Regions from separate parts of the Homo sapiens genome. Here region 1 is linked to region 2. The links are contacts of gene promoters, found by promoter capture Hi-C in human tissues and cell types (Jung and others, 2019). All regions are on one chromosome and are shown on one strand. Each heading gives the region's core, a stretch centred on a gene start or on the middle of the fragment in contact. The rest is flanking DNA. Distances are from core to core; before and after follow the strand shown. Region 1 overlaps MR1 (major histocompatibility complex, class I-related). Region 2 holds the start of KIAA1614.

Region 1 (6,153 bases), core at 1,449-3,948, 130 kb before region 2:
TGTCCTGTTATCTCCTGCCATTCTGACCCATCTAAATCCTTCCCAGTCCTCAAAACCCACCTCCAAAAACATTTCATCCCTAAAACAGGATCATCCCTAAAATTTCATGGCTAAATTGAGATGACAGATGGAGGCTCACATACCAGAGATCCAGATATTTAAAAGGAATAAATCAATCTAACAAACTTGAAATATGTTCTATCCCCCCACCTTGAGAGATTGCCCTTTGTATGGCTTCGAAGACCAAGTTCAAATTAAAAAATCTCACACTGTGTGAAGTTCTGGGCCTGAATGGGGCGGCACAGAGAAAGCTGGTGTCTCCCTCCAGTCCCCGGCCCTCAGCCTGAGACTCACCTCTTTTTCTTCCTGTTTCTTGCTCCTTCCAGCACTGCCAAGGGCCTCCCACAATTAAACACCTCTACTTTTTTATTCAGGCTCAGCCACAAACTGCCTCTTGTCTGAGCTTGTCCTGGGCTTAAGTGATCCTCCCACCTCTTGGCCACCCCTCAGGCCTAGCAAGGCCCTCAAGGGCAGCCAGTCCACCTTTAGGAGGATGGGCCAAAGTGCGAGTTTGTTGTGTAAACCTCAGCAGCTCTGAGTCAGCTGAGTGGGGAACTCCAGGTTCCTGGGTGCCTGGAGTCTGGTCTAGAGTGGAGGGGCCCAGACACAGGGTTACCACCTCCCCTCAGCCTCACGCACTCCTCGCTCTGTGGGAAAGGATGTGGGTAGCAGAGGGCCAGAGTGGGGCTCTCTGAATGTGGGGCCATATCCAGGGGCTTCTCTTGCCTGTGTCTAAGAGCTGTACTACACAACACTTCCCCAGTCTTTCCAGATTGCCCACCCTGCTGCTGCCATCACCTTTAGGACCTCCCCTACATTCAGATCTTCTAACCTGGCCCTTGCCACTATAGAGAATCTTGCAAGGGTGAATACCACTTAATGATATTCATTCCTTCCTCCTCATTTATAAGCATATAGTTAAGAAAAAAGATCAGGCCGGGCGCAGTGGCTCACGCCTGTAATCCCAGCACTTTGGGAGGCCGACGCGGGCGGATCATGAGGTCAGGAGATCGAGACCAACCTGGCTAACATGGTGAAACCCCGTCTCTACTAAAAATACAAAAAATTAGCCAGGCGTTGTGGCAGGCACCTGTAGTCCCAGCTACTTGGGAGGCTGAGGCAGGAGAATGGTGTGAACCCGGGAGGCGGAGCTTGCAGTGAGCCAAGATCACGCCACTGCACTCCAGCCTGGGCGACAGAGTGAGACTCTGTCTCAAAAAAAAAAAAAAAAAAAAGATCAGACAAAAAAAAAAAATCAGCTCACAAAATAGTTGGATTAGCTTCTGTGCTACAAGTTTGTTTATATTTTTCTTTTCTCTAAAACTGCTTATGAAATAACTCATAATGTGCAGGTTATCTTTCAGAACTGACCACCCCAAGGCCAGGGTACCCTTACCTTGCATACTAGGAAAAACAAGAGGCCCTGAGAGGTATCTCCCAGAGCAACTGATTGTACTAGTTAGTGTATGTATGTGTGTGCATATGTGTGTGTGTGTATGACAGGGTTTTACTCTGTTGCCCAGCTGGAGTGCAGCGGCATGATCACAGCTCACTGTAGCCTTGAATTCCTGGGCTTAAGTGGTCCTCTCACCTCAGCCTCCTGAGTAGCTGGGATTATAAGCACGTCACCACTTCTTTTTAATAGAGACAGGGTCTGTGTTGCCCAGGCTGGTCTCAAATTCCTGGCCTTAAGTGATCCTCCCACTTTGGCCTCCCAAAGTGCTGGGATTAGAGATGTGAGCCACCACGCCCAGCAATTAAAATCATTGTTAGCACTTCTTTCTCCTTGCTCCTGGAGCTGGGGTGTAGCAGTTTGGCAGGGTTCAGAGTAGGTATCCCCGCCCCATGGGCTCCTCCCTCACAGGTGTTATCCTGCATGTCAGCTGCAATACTGAACAGGATGGAGGCTGGCCTCCCACAGGCTGGGGCAGCATAAGGTCCCAATGTCCCTCTGTATTGCTTTGACCTTTTACTTCCCCCTTCCCTTCCTGTGGTGGGTGAGGGCTTGGGTTGGGAGGGAAGACAGTGGAAGCCTCTGGGGTAGTCATGAGAGCCTCTTCATAAAAGTGTTGGTTCTTATGCAAACAAGAGCCAGAGATTGCATCAGAGCATGAGTTCTGTCGTAAAACCAATAGCTACCAGATTCTGCCTTCTGTTTCCCTCTGCTTACTACCTTCTACCTGCTTCTCAATCTTAAAGCACTTAAGAACAGGGACTTTGCTTTTTTCCTTTGTATTTCCTGCAAAGCTTAGCACAGGGAGCTTGGCACATGGTAGTAGCTTGGTAAATATTGGGTGAATTAAATTGTTGGTGAAACACTTTATTTCTGTGGTTTGGAATAATGAAATATGCTGAAATGAATATGAATCTATTTAACCTGGATCTTTTTTGAGACAGAGTCTCATTCTGTCGCCCAGGTTGGAGTGCAGTGGCGTGATCTCGGCTCACTGCGGCCTCTGCCTCCCTGCTTCAGGCAATTCTCCCTGCCCCAGCCTCCCAAGTAGCTGGGATTACAGGTGCCCACCATCACGCCTGGCTAATTTTTGTATTTTTTTTTAGTATAGACGGGTTTTTGCCACGTTGGCCAGGCTGGTCTTGAACTCCCGACCTCAGGTGATCTGCCTGCCTTGGTCTCCCAAAGTGCTGGGATTACAGGCGTGAGCCACCGCACCTGGCCTAAAAAATATTTTTGATTTGGCCGGGCGCGGTGGCTCACGCCTCTAATCCCAGCACTTTTGGAGGCCGAGGTGGGTGGATCACCTAAGGTCAGGAGTTCAAGACCAGCCTGACCAACATGGAGAAACCCCATCTCTACTAAAAATATAAAATTAGCCAGGCATGGTGGCGCATGCCTGTAATCCCAGCTACTAGGGAGGTGAGGCAGGAGAATCGCTTGAACCTGGGAGGTGGAGGTTGTGGTGAGCCGAGATCGCGCCACTGCACTCCAGCCTGGGCAACAAGAGCGAGACTCCATCTCAAAAAAAAAAAAAAAAAAATTATCTTTGATTCAAGGGAAGGCTGGTGAATGGAGAGTTGAACTGCAATCTGGGATCTGCAAAGGGTACTATATATATTCTGCAATTGATTTTGAAATAGTTCTATTTTTTCACATCTGGAAAGTTTTGTGGCTACACTGGAGGTACACAACTGTCTAAAGAAGGAGGACCCAAAAGGAGGAACAAGTTGTGAATATTAGTTCTCACACTTCCTTAATATTGATTTGTATATCCAATGCTTCTTCTGTGCCAGCCACTCTTCTAGGCCCTAAGCTTGTACCAGACCAAACAGATAAAAATGTCTGCCCTCATGGAGTCTACACCCTAGTCGGGGGAAGGGGAGAAGACAGACTAGAAAATAAAATATATAATTTTTTTAAAGTACAGTGAAGAAAAATAAAACTGCAAAGAGGAATGGGCAACACTATTTAAAAAAGGAAGGCGTATTAAGGAAGGTTTCCCACAAAGCTGAATTCTGAGCAAGTGCCTGCAAGGAGTTGGGGAGACAGGCAGGTGTCTGGGGACAGCAGTCTGGACAAGAAGGGCCATGCAAAGGCCCCTGGAAAGAACATGCCTGGCACATTCCAGGAGCAGCACAAAGGCCTGTGGCTGGAGTTGAGGGAGTGAGGGGAAAAGAAAGAGGGAGGAATCACTTCCATAGTTTTTCATGGGAAAAAATCCCCACGGAGAGCAGACTCCAGACAGAGAATGTGGAGAGGAGAAAAAAGAAGGAAGAAAAAAAGATGCTGTGTTGCTGAGCTAAGCTGGGTTGGTGTAGAACATCCCCTGGAATCTGGGTTTTCTATTTTTATGATCTCTGAGGTCTACATTCCTGATAGATGCCAACAAGCAAAAAAACCTCCAGTATTAACAACTTGGGGCATTAGTGCCCAATAGCAGGATTTATTCCAGTTAAGTATCACCAGCATCATCTCCAAACATAATATTTACAATTCATGTAACTTTGCTTTCTTATAAAAATGTAATTTTCACAAGAATTTGCATTATCTGAAGTTAAAAGAGGTAGATAGAGAGAAATATGGTCTGTTGACAATACTGTCCAAGTAAGTATTGTGCTTTATTTATTTATTTATTTATTTATTTATTTATTTATTTATTGAGACAGAGTCTCACTCTGTCACCCGGGCTGGAGTGCAGTGGCACAGTCTCTGCTCACTGCAACCTCTGCCTCCCAGGTTCAAGCGATTCTCCTGCCTCAGCCTCCCAAGTAGCTGAGATTACAGGCGCCTGCCACTACACCCAGCTAATTTTTTTATTTTTAGTAGAGATGGGGTTTCACCACGTTGGCCAGGCTGGTCTTGAACTCCTACCTCATGATTCCCCCTGCCTTGGCCTCCCAAAGTGCTGGGATTACAGACATGAGCCACCGTGCCTGGCTGTGTCTTTCTTTCTTTCTGGGTTTTTTTTTTTTTTAACTTCAATCTAATTCTGATGCCTGGTTTTGAAACAGTTGTTCTCCACCAGCCAGCCTTGACTTCAAAGTCCAGGCACCTAAAGGCTGGACTTGCTTTTTCAGTCACACCCATCCACCACTGGTTCAGCCCAGCGTGGCTCTGCTCCAGGACATCACAGTCCCTTCCTCTTCATTTGCCATGGGCCCAGTTACCCATCTGGTGCCTCCACAGGAACAAGTCATGCTTGCTCCTTAGCTGGGCCTTTAAAATGTTACCTCTGCTGTGGTGGGAAGTTGATTGACACATGTTCAGTCAGTAACTCACAACAGAAAAGATGAGGAAAAGTCCAGGTACCCTCTCTCTCCTAGTACATTAAAACTTGTGATAATTTATATCCCACCAGGATTTGTTGCAGACATAATCAGATTTCGAATCATTTGGAAAGGCCAATATTTTACCATTTTTGACCTATAAAAATGGCAATTTCATATCATTTGATCTAATCTTCCATTTCTCTTTTCTCGCCCTAATAATTTTGAAATTAAGTCTCTCTCTCCCTTTCCATGAACAGATAGATCATCAGCATCAACTCACTTATTAAGCTGAAATATACAATTTAGAATTTGGTATTCTGTCTAAACCAGTCAAGCTACTTCTCAAAAGGCATCTCCTGCCCAGTCTCATCAGCTTCTGACAGATAGTGCTGGAGAACCCGAACGACACAACCAAAAACTCTTAGGCTAGGTGCAATGGCTACTTGATAGTTCTAAATCATGTTCCCTTTAACCTGTCCATTAACCAGTTGGGCCATTCTTACAAAAGGCTGTGAAAATCACTGGATTGTAAAATAATTGATGAAGTGTTTTCACTTCATCCATGAGGGCAATTTTTCTTTTCTTTTTTCTTTTTTTTTTTTTTTTGAGATGGAGTCTCGCTCTGACACCCAGGCTGGAGTGCAGTGGCATGATCTTGGCTCACTGCAACCTCTGCCTCCTGGGTTCAAGCAATTCTCCTGCCTCAGCCTCCAGAGTAGTTGGGATTATAGGCGCCCACCACTACACTCAGCTAATTTTTGTATTTTTAGTAGAGACAGGGTTTCACCATGTTGGTCAGGCTGGTCTCGAACTCATGACCTCAGGTGATCCACCCACCTCAGCCTCCCAAAATGTTGGGATTACAGGCGTGAGCCACCGCGCCCGGCCTCATGGGGGCAATTATTTATTTAGTGTCTACTATGTACAAGGAATTGGAGGCAATGTTAGGAAGAGAAGAACAAATCAAATACCAGCTCTTTCCTCCAGGAACTTACAGTATTATTGGGGAGCTAAAGCACATAACAAATAAATGAATTCCACCACACACGGCAACAAGCAGCAAGCGCCAGAAAAGAGTACCAATGGAGTGCTCCAGCCACTAGGAGAAGAGAGACCGTGGTCCCATGAGAAGGGATCCACTGGGAAATGTTCCAAGGAGGTGGCAGATCAGATGGGCCTTCAATGAGGCATAAAGGGCAGCAGCATCTTAATCATAGTCATCACAACTGTATTTGTTTATTGAGCACATACCTTGTGTTAGGTACCATTTTAAGCCCTTGATAAGCATGGGTTTCACTTATTCTTCTAACAAACTTTTGAGGTAGGTCTTATAATTCCAACCCACAGATAGAAAATAGGTGCAGAGAG
Region 2 (6,170 bases), core at 758-3,257:
TGAGGTCAGGAGTGCTGCTCACCTGTAGTCCCAGCTACTCAGGAGGCTGAGGCAAGGTAATTGCTTGAACTCGGGAGGCAGAGGTTGCAGTGAGCCAAGATTGCACCACTGCACTCCAGCCTGGGCGACAGAGCAAGACTCTGTCTCAAAAATAAAAAAAATAAATAAAAATAAAAAATACAAAAAATTAGCTGGGTGTGGTGGCAGGTGCCTGTAGTCCCAGCTACTTGGGAGGCAGAGGCAGGAGAATCACTTGAACCCAGAAGGCGGAGGTTACAGTGAGGCGAGATCCCGCCACTGCACTCCAGCCTGGGCGATAGAGCGAGACTCTGTCTCAAAAAAAAGAAAAGAAAAGAAAAGAAAGAATGGCTTTATTATATACTTCTACAGATGGAGAAACTGAGGCACAGATTACAATACACAGGTGCTAAGAGGAGGCCCAGTTTGGAAACCAAAGCTTCTCATTCCAAGCCCAGGCCTTTTCCAAAACATGTAGTGATCACTTAACCCTACTCCCCTTATTCTGTAAATGATAATGTTCCATCCCCAGAGGCTAGGTGGCTTGTCAGCGCTGCACAGATCCTTAGCAGCATGGCTGATGTTTATCCCTTCACAAGGAATGAAGGTGAGCAGGGGTTTGACTCAGGGTGTTGCATGCATATCTACATGCCACAGCGTTTTAATATTGATTCTACCTTCTGAGAAAAATACAACTTTAATATCACACATCTAGATGTCCCCCCCCCCTTGAAGTAAACTTTGTGCATAAAAATCCTTATGTGTATACACTACAAATTAGGAGTTATCCACTTCGTAACACGGACCAAGTATTCACCATAAAATTCTCTTAAATGGCAAGTCTCTCTGTAGTCGTTTATTACAATTCAATTTATACACAAGCTTTCAGGAATGCACATATTTTATAAAGCAAAATACACATATAATGCGAAATGTCACACCAGTTTTAAGCCAGTAAAGTTTAAGGATTATCTTTAGGAGGACAGAAATAATTTGTTCTATGAGTTAATCTAGAATGCAGCAAGTTTCTCTTTGCATCTCCTTCTTCTCCTCTAAAGTCCAATCCAGAAAACAGGGGATTAGAATGTAATATGAGCAATTTCTGTTAAGTTAAAATAACTTTTTGTTTTTGGGGAGGCTGAAGCCAGAGGAGGCCGGGCTTGAGCCCGGGAGGTCGAGGTTGCAGTGAGCCATGATCGCACCACTGCACTCCAGCCTGGGCGACAGAGCGAGACCCTGGCTCCAAAAAATTAAAGTAAGAATTGTTGATGGGTAAACTCTGGAACAGCACGCCAGAGACCTTAAAGAATGAGACCCTCCCACTGGAGTCCCCTGGGCACGGGCTTTCGGGAAGATCGGTCAGCTCGGAGCTGCCTGGTTCTATGGCCCAAGCACTGTGATGTATTTCCCCTAACTCAGAGGGGCCAAACGAAGATGGACGTGAAGGGCGGGCCTCCCCACGACCCTTCCAGCTCCGAGCCCGTGGGAGGCCCGCTTCCCAGTGGCCGGGGCGACCTGGGCTCCCCGCTCCTCCGCCCCGCCGGTCCGCCACCCCCGCCCGGCCGGCCCGGCGCTGCCTCCTCTATACTCACTGGGGGCTGCCGCCCGCGGGTTTGGCCGCCGCCGCCTCTGTCCCCTCCATCCCTCGGAGAGGCCAGGCCCTCTCCAGCCCCTTCTCCCTCCCAGGCCAGCTGCTGGGTTCGGGGAGGGACTTCCAGCCCCGAATCCGGGGCCGGAGGGAGTGCGGCCCGCAGGCCTCGCCCCTCGGGGCGCGGCCGACTGGGGGTCCGGGACGGCGCCGAGGCCGGGCCAGCTCCCGGCTCTGCTGGCAGCCCCCGGGCCCCGGGTGGGTCTGGCCGGCGCAGCGCCCCACGGGCCGCACTCCCTCCCGGCGAGAGGACGGGAAGCGGGGTCGGGCAGGGAGGGCGCTGGCAGGGAAGGAAGTGGCATCAGCTGTCCGTTCACGGCTTTGCCGTGGAGGGGAAGAGCGGCCAAGCCCGCGCCTTCCCGGCCCGCGCTGGGCAGAGGGAGCCGAGCGCGGAGAGGTGGGGCCGCGGGAGGGGCTGGAGGAGCCGGGCCTCGGCCTCCCACCCCGCCCGGAGCCCCGCGGGGCCGCCTCTCCTGAGCCGCGGCCCAGGGAGCGAGTGTCCCCGGCCGTCAGAGGCGCGGGATGGAAGTCCAGGGCGGCCCCGAGCTTGGGGACGACGGGGCGGCCGCCAGCCTCGCAGGGCGGTGGCCCCTTCCCCGCGGGAAAGCGGGCGCAAGAGCGGAGGCGCGCGGGGCGCACGGAGGCCGGGGAGCGCGGGCAGGAGCTGGGGGCGCACCACGTTCTCGGCGGGCTCCGCGCGCCGCTGGTAACCCTACACCCAGGGCTCGCCTTTCGGGGTGGAAGCTGAGGAATGCCTTTTGTGTGGACAAGTTTTCCAGAGGAGCCGGCCGCCCTCTCTGTGGGGCCGTCCATCGCTCCGTAGAGCCGTTTCCTCCGAGGTCAAGGTCGTTGGTTCCCGCTCTCCAGAGGCGTGAGGGAAACCCGGAGGGAACGCGCTCCGCGCATCCCGTCTGCCGCGGTGCCGGAATTGCCCGCCGCCGCCTTGGGTGGGGACCGGTTCTCAGGGTCCTGGGGGCTCTCGAGCAGATCACTTTCCCCAGCGCGGGACGGGGGTCGCAACCAGGGGCATTCCCTGCAGCCGCGGCCCAAACCGACGGAGCTTGCTTTCTCCTTCCACCCAGAGGGGGTGACCGAGCCTCACCTATTTCCAAGCCTATTTTTTCACAAAGACGGGAAGCAATAAAAGTGGCCTCAGGAGATTCCGGAAATCTCTACAAAGAGAAAGTGCCCGTTCATCTTTCCTTCAGCCGACTGGCTTCACTGTGAAGCATGGGGTAGTTGTGCACCTCCAGATGACAGGACAGACACAGCAACAGTAAGGGCCGCGCAATATGTACCGGGGCAGGGGAGGAGGGGAAGGAAGTTTTCTAGAGGGGCTGCCTCTTGAGTCAGGAGGGGGTTACTCTGCACAAGGTGGGGGAAGGGGCGTCTGGCAGGGCAACAGGAGAGCGGAGCCTGGGGAGCTGTGAGTGGACTGGCGTCTTGGCAATCTAGGAGCTTGAGAGATTATCCAGTGCAAACCCTCTGTGTCACAGTACAGGCCCAAGGTTACGTCAGAGGCTTCGAACCAGAGCGACTCCATCTTGTGTGAGGGCGAGGAAAATGAGGCTGGGACTTGCTGGGCCACATTCCCAGTGAGTTAGCTATACCCAGCTTCTAGATATTTACGGTTAAGAGAACAAATTAATAACGTTTGCTAAACAGACCCAGACTTAGGAGTGTCCTGATATCCTGATATCTTGAGAACAGACTCATTTGTAATTATGCTTTAAAGTTAATAATATCGATTATTGCAAAATATAGTAACTAAGAAAATTAATCCTTTATCACAAACCCTTGTAGCACAGCACATCTCCCCATGATCCTTTTTTATCCTGTGTAAGCGAGTATTGTACCCAGGGTGGATGCGTTCCTCCTCGTACTTTCCAGAACTCCCTCCTCTGTCTATGGAGTAGCTGTACTTTCACCACTTTACTTTCTTACTAAACTTGCTTTTGCTTTGCACTGTGAACGCACCTTGCTTTTTTTTTTTTTTTTTTTTTTTTGAGACAGAGTCTTGCTCTGTTGCCCAGGCTGGAGGGCAGTGGGGCGATGGATTCTCCCACCTCAGCCTCCTGAGTAGCTGGGGCTATAGACATGCACCACCACGCCTGGCTACTTTTTGTATTTTTAGTAGAGATGGGGTTTCACCATGTTGCCCAGGATGGTCTCGAACTCCTGGCCTCAAGTGATCCACCTGCCTCGGCCTCCCAAAGTTTGGGATTACAGGCATGAGCCACCACGCCCAGCCTTGCCCTGAATTCTTTCTTGCGAGAGATGCAAGAACCCTTTCTTGTGGTCTGGATTGGGACACCTCTCCTGTAGCAGTTACACAGCTCTGGTGACAGGTGGTCTCCAGGGTCCTGGGTGGCCTCTTCCCTCCCCGAAACTCACCATGTTCCCAGAACAAGAAGTTCCTTTAACAAAGCATTGACTGCTTTTGCTTTTTAGTATTGATCGCTTCACAGAGTGGTGCCTGCACTATTTGCAGTGGGCATACTGGCACCAGGCATTGGCTAAGCAGTTTAAATTCATTATCTCGTATTTCAGCCTTAAGAAGTAGGCAGTGGCTATTGTCTCCTTTTCTTTTTTTTTTTTTTTTTTTTTTTTTGAGACGGAGTCTCGCTCTTTCACCCAGGCTGGAGTGCTGTGGCGCTATCTCGGCTCACTGCAAGCTCCGCCTCCCAGGTTCACGCCATTCTCCTGCCTCGGCCTCCCAAGTAGCTGGGAATACAGGTGCCCACCACCGTGCCTGGCTAATTTTTTGTATTTTTAGTATAGATGGGGTTTCACCGTGTTAGCCTTGATGGCATCGATCTCCTGACCTCATGATCTGCCCGCCTGGGCCTCCCAAAGTGCTGGGATTACAAGTGTGAGCCACCACGCCTGGCCTATTGTCTCCTTTCTATAGACACTGAGTGTAAGTGAACGCCCCAGGATCCACAGCTGGGTAAGCTGTAGTCCAGCCTCCTAGAGTCCAGGCCCTCATGCCAGTACACTGCACAGTGCTGTCGCCAGCATCTGCCTGTTCAACATGGAAAGATTTAGTTTAAAAAAAAATCAAAAGATTTGTGAAAAAAATCATGAAGTGCTGTGATACTGAAAATGTGCTGGCACAGTGGCTTGGCCCTTCCTGGCTTTCTTATTCCTGCCGTCTAAGTTAAAAGCCCCTCAAGACTCCTTCTTCTCCTGCATGCCCAGTGTTAAGCCTGACAGCAGCAACACTGTTACTATTATTGGGGGCATCCTATGAGCTAAGGTACCCCACATAGGATCTTTTGCATCTTTACAACAACCATGCAAAATAGGTATAGTGTATCTCCACTTTAGTGATAAAGAAATCGAGCTGCAGAGAGGTTAAGTAGCTTGCCCAAGGCCACACAGCTAGTATAGCTAGAATCTGAACCCAGCTCTGTCTGGTTCCAAGATTTTCTGCCTTGCTTCCTCTTTTATAGAGGCACCTCTGAATTCAGACTCCACGGCTTCTGCTCCCACCCTCCCCCAGAAGTTAATGATCTATAAGGAAAGTTTCTGAAAGTTCCAGCAAAGGTTTAATGTTTAAAGAAAACCTGCCTCCCCCCAATCTTTTGAGATGCAAATAATCACTTTCAGTTTATTTGGGTTAAAGTTTTTTTTGTTTTTTTGTTTTTTGTGCGAGGGGAGTAGGGTGTTACATCTATATTGAGGCCTTAAAAGCCACCTGTCCTAAAGATACCCATGAGCACGAGCAAACCCTTAGAATGCTGTTGAATTGTGACATCTACATGTCGAGGGCATTCTTGTTCATCTGGATTCTGTTTGATTTAGCAGATATATGTTGAGCTCCTAGATATGTCAGAGACTGCAGAGACAAAATTTAGCACCACAGACCCTACTTTTGAGGAACTGGGGAGTTGGGGAGGGGCAGGCACACAAACTTTCTATATATGTGCTCCCAACCAGGTCAGCATAAGGTGGTGTAGGTTGCTCACAGAAAAGGCTAGATTGAGGGGTGTGTGTTGGGTGAGAAGGGGTACCACGGAGAACTGGGTCTTGGAGAATGAGCAGGAATTAGCCAGACAGAGGGGGAGGGGTGAGAGAAGACGTTTCAGGTAAAGAGATGAGCATAGATGCAGGCTCGGAGGTGTGAAACTGCCTGGTTTCAGTGTTACTAAGTGTAAAATTTAACCCAGGAAAGACAGGGGAAGGATGAGGTTGCAGAGCAGGGGAGGTTGGGTCTGGTGAGGAGCTTGGACCCCACCCTGTGACTGGCAGCCCCTCGGGTGTGGTCTTGACCAACACCTTAGCCCTTGAGCTGGGCACATAACCATCTTATTTATTTCCTTATGCGTCAGACACTTTCATTATCATCTTCTGGAGGGAGTTCTAGGAGGAAAACAAATACAATGTAAACAGTGATCACAAAGCCCCTTCCTCTGCTGAACAACTAGGGAAATGGACCATCCCAAGAAGCCCCTTTGACTTACTGTGAGTGAAAACACAAGCCTCATCCTTCCTCCCAACT

Evidence for each region. The method cuts DNA at HindIII sites, captures the fragments that hold promoters and counts their contacts. A contact is called where the count stands out against the background at its distance.
Region 1: a contact is called between a fragment that was not itself captured here and the fragment with the promoter of KIAA1614 in region 2, in 1 of the 25 tissues and cell types used here (bladder).

What each region holds. Positions count from the first base shown.
Region 1 is chr1:181,039,104-181,045,256 of GRCh38, reverse strand. The region is part of intron 1 of MR1 (major histocompatibility complex, class I-related); the gene reads right to left. Among named protein-coding and RNA genes, the nearest start is that of MR1, 8.2 kb to the right of the region's middle. RefSeq lists a silencer at 214-363 and enhancers at 415-654, 775-914. The HindIII fragment of the contact is 4,523 bases long and covers 437-4,959 here.
Region 2 is chr1:180,908,734-180,914,903 of GRCh38, reverse strand. It overlaps KIAA1614, which reads right to left and starts at 2,007. Exons shown (of 9, transcript NM_020950.2): 1 at 1,611-2,007. The coding sequence starts at 1,660. LINC02816 (long intergenic non-protein coding RNA 2816) reads right to left here. Exons shown (of 4, transcript NR_185877.1): 3 at 6,133-6,170; 4 at 848-6,031. RefSeq lists a silencer at 1,912-2,211. The HindIII fragment of the contact is 13,277 bases long and covers 680-6,170 here.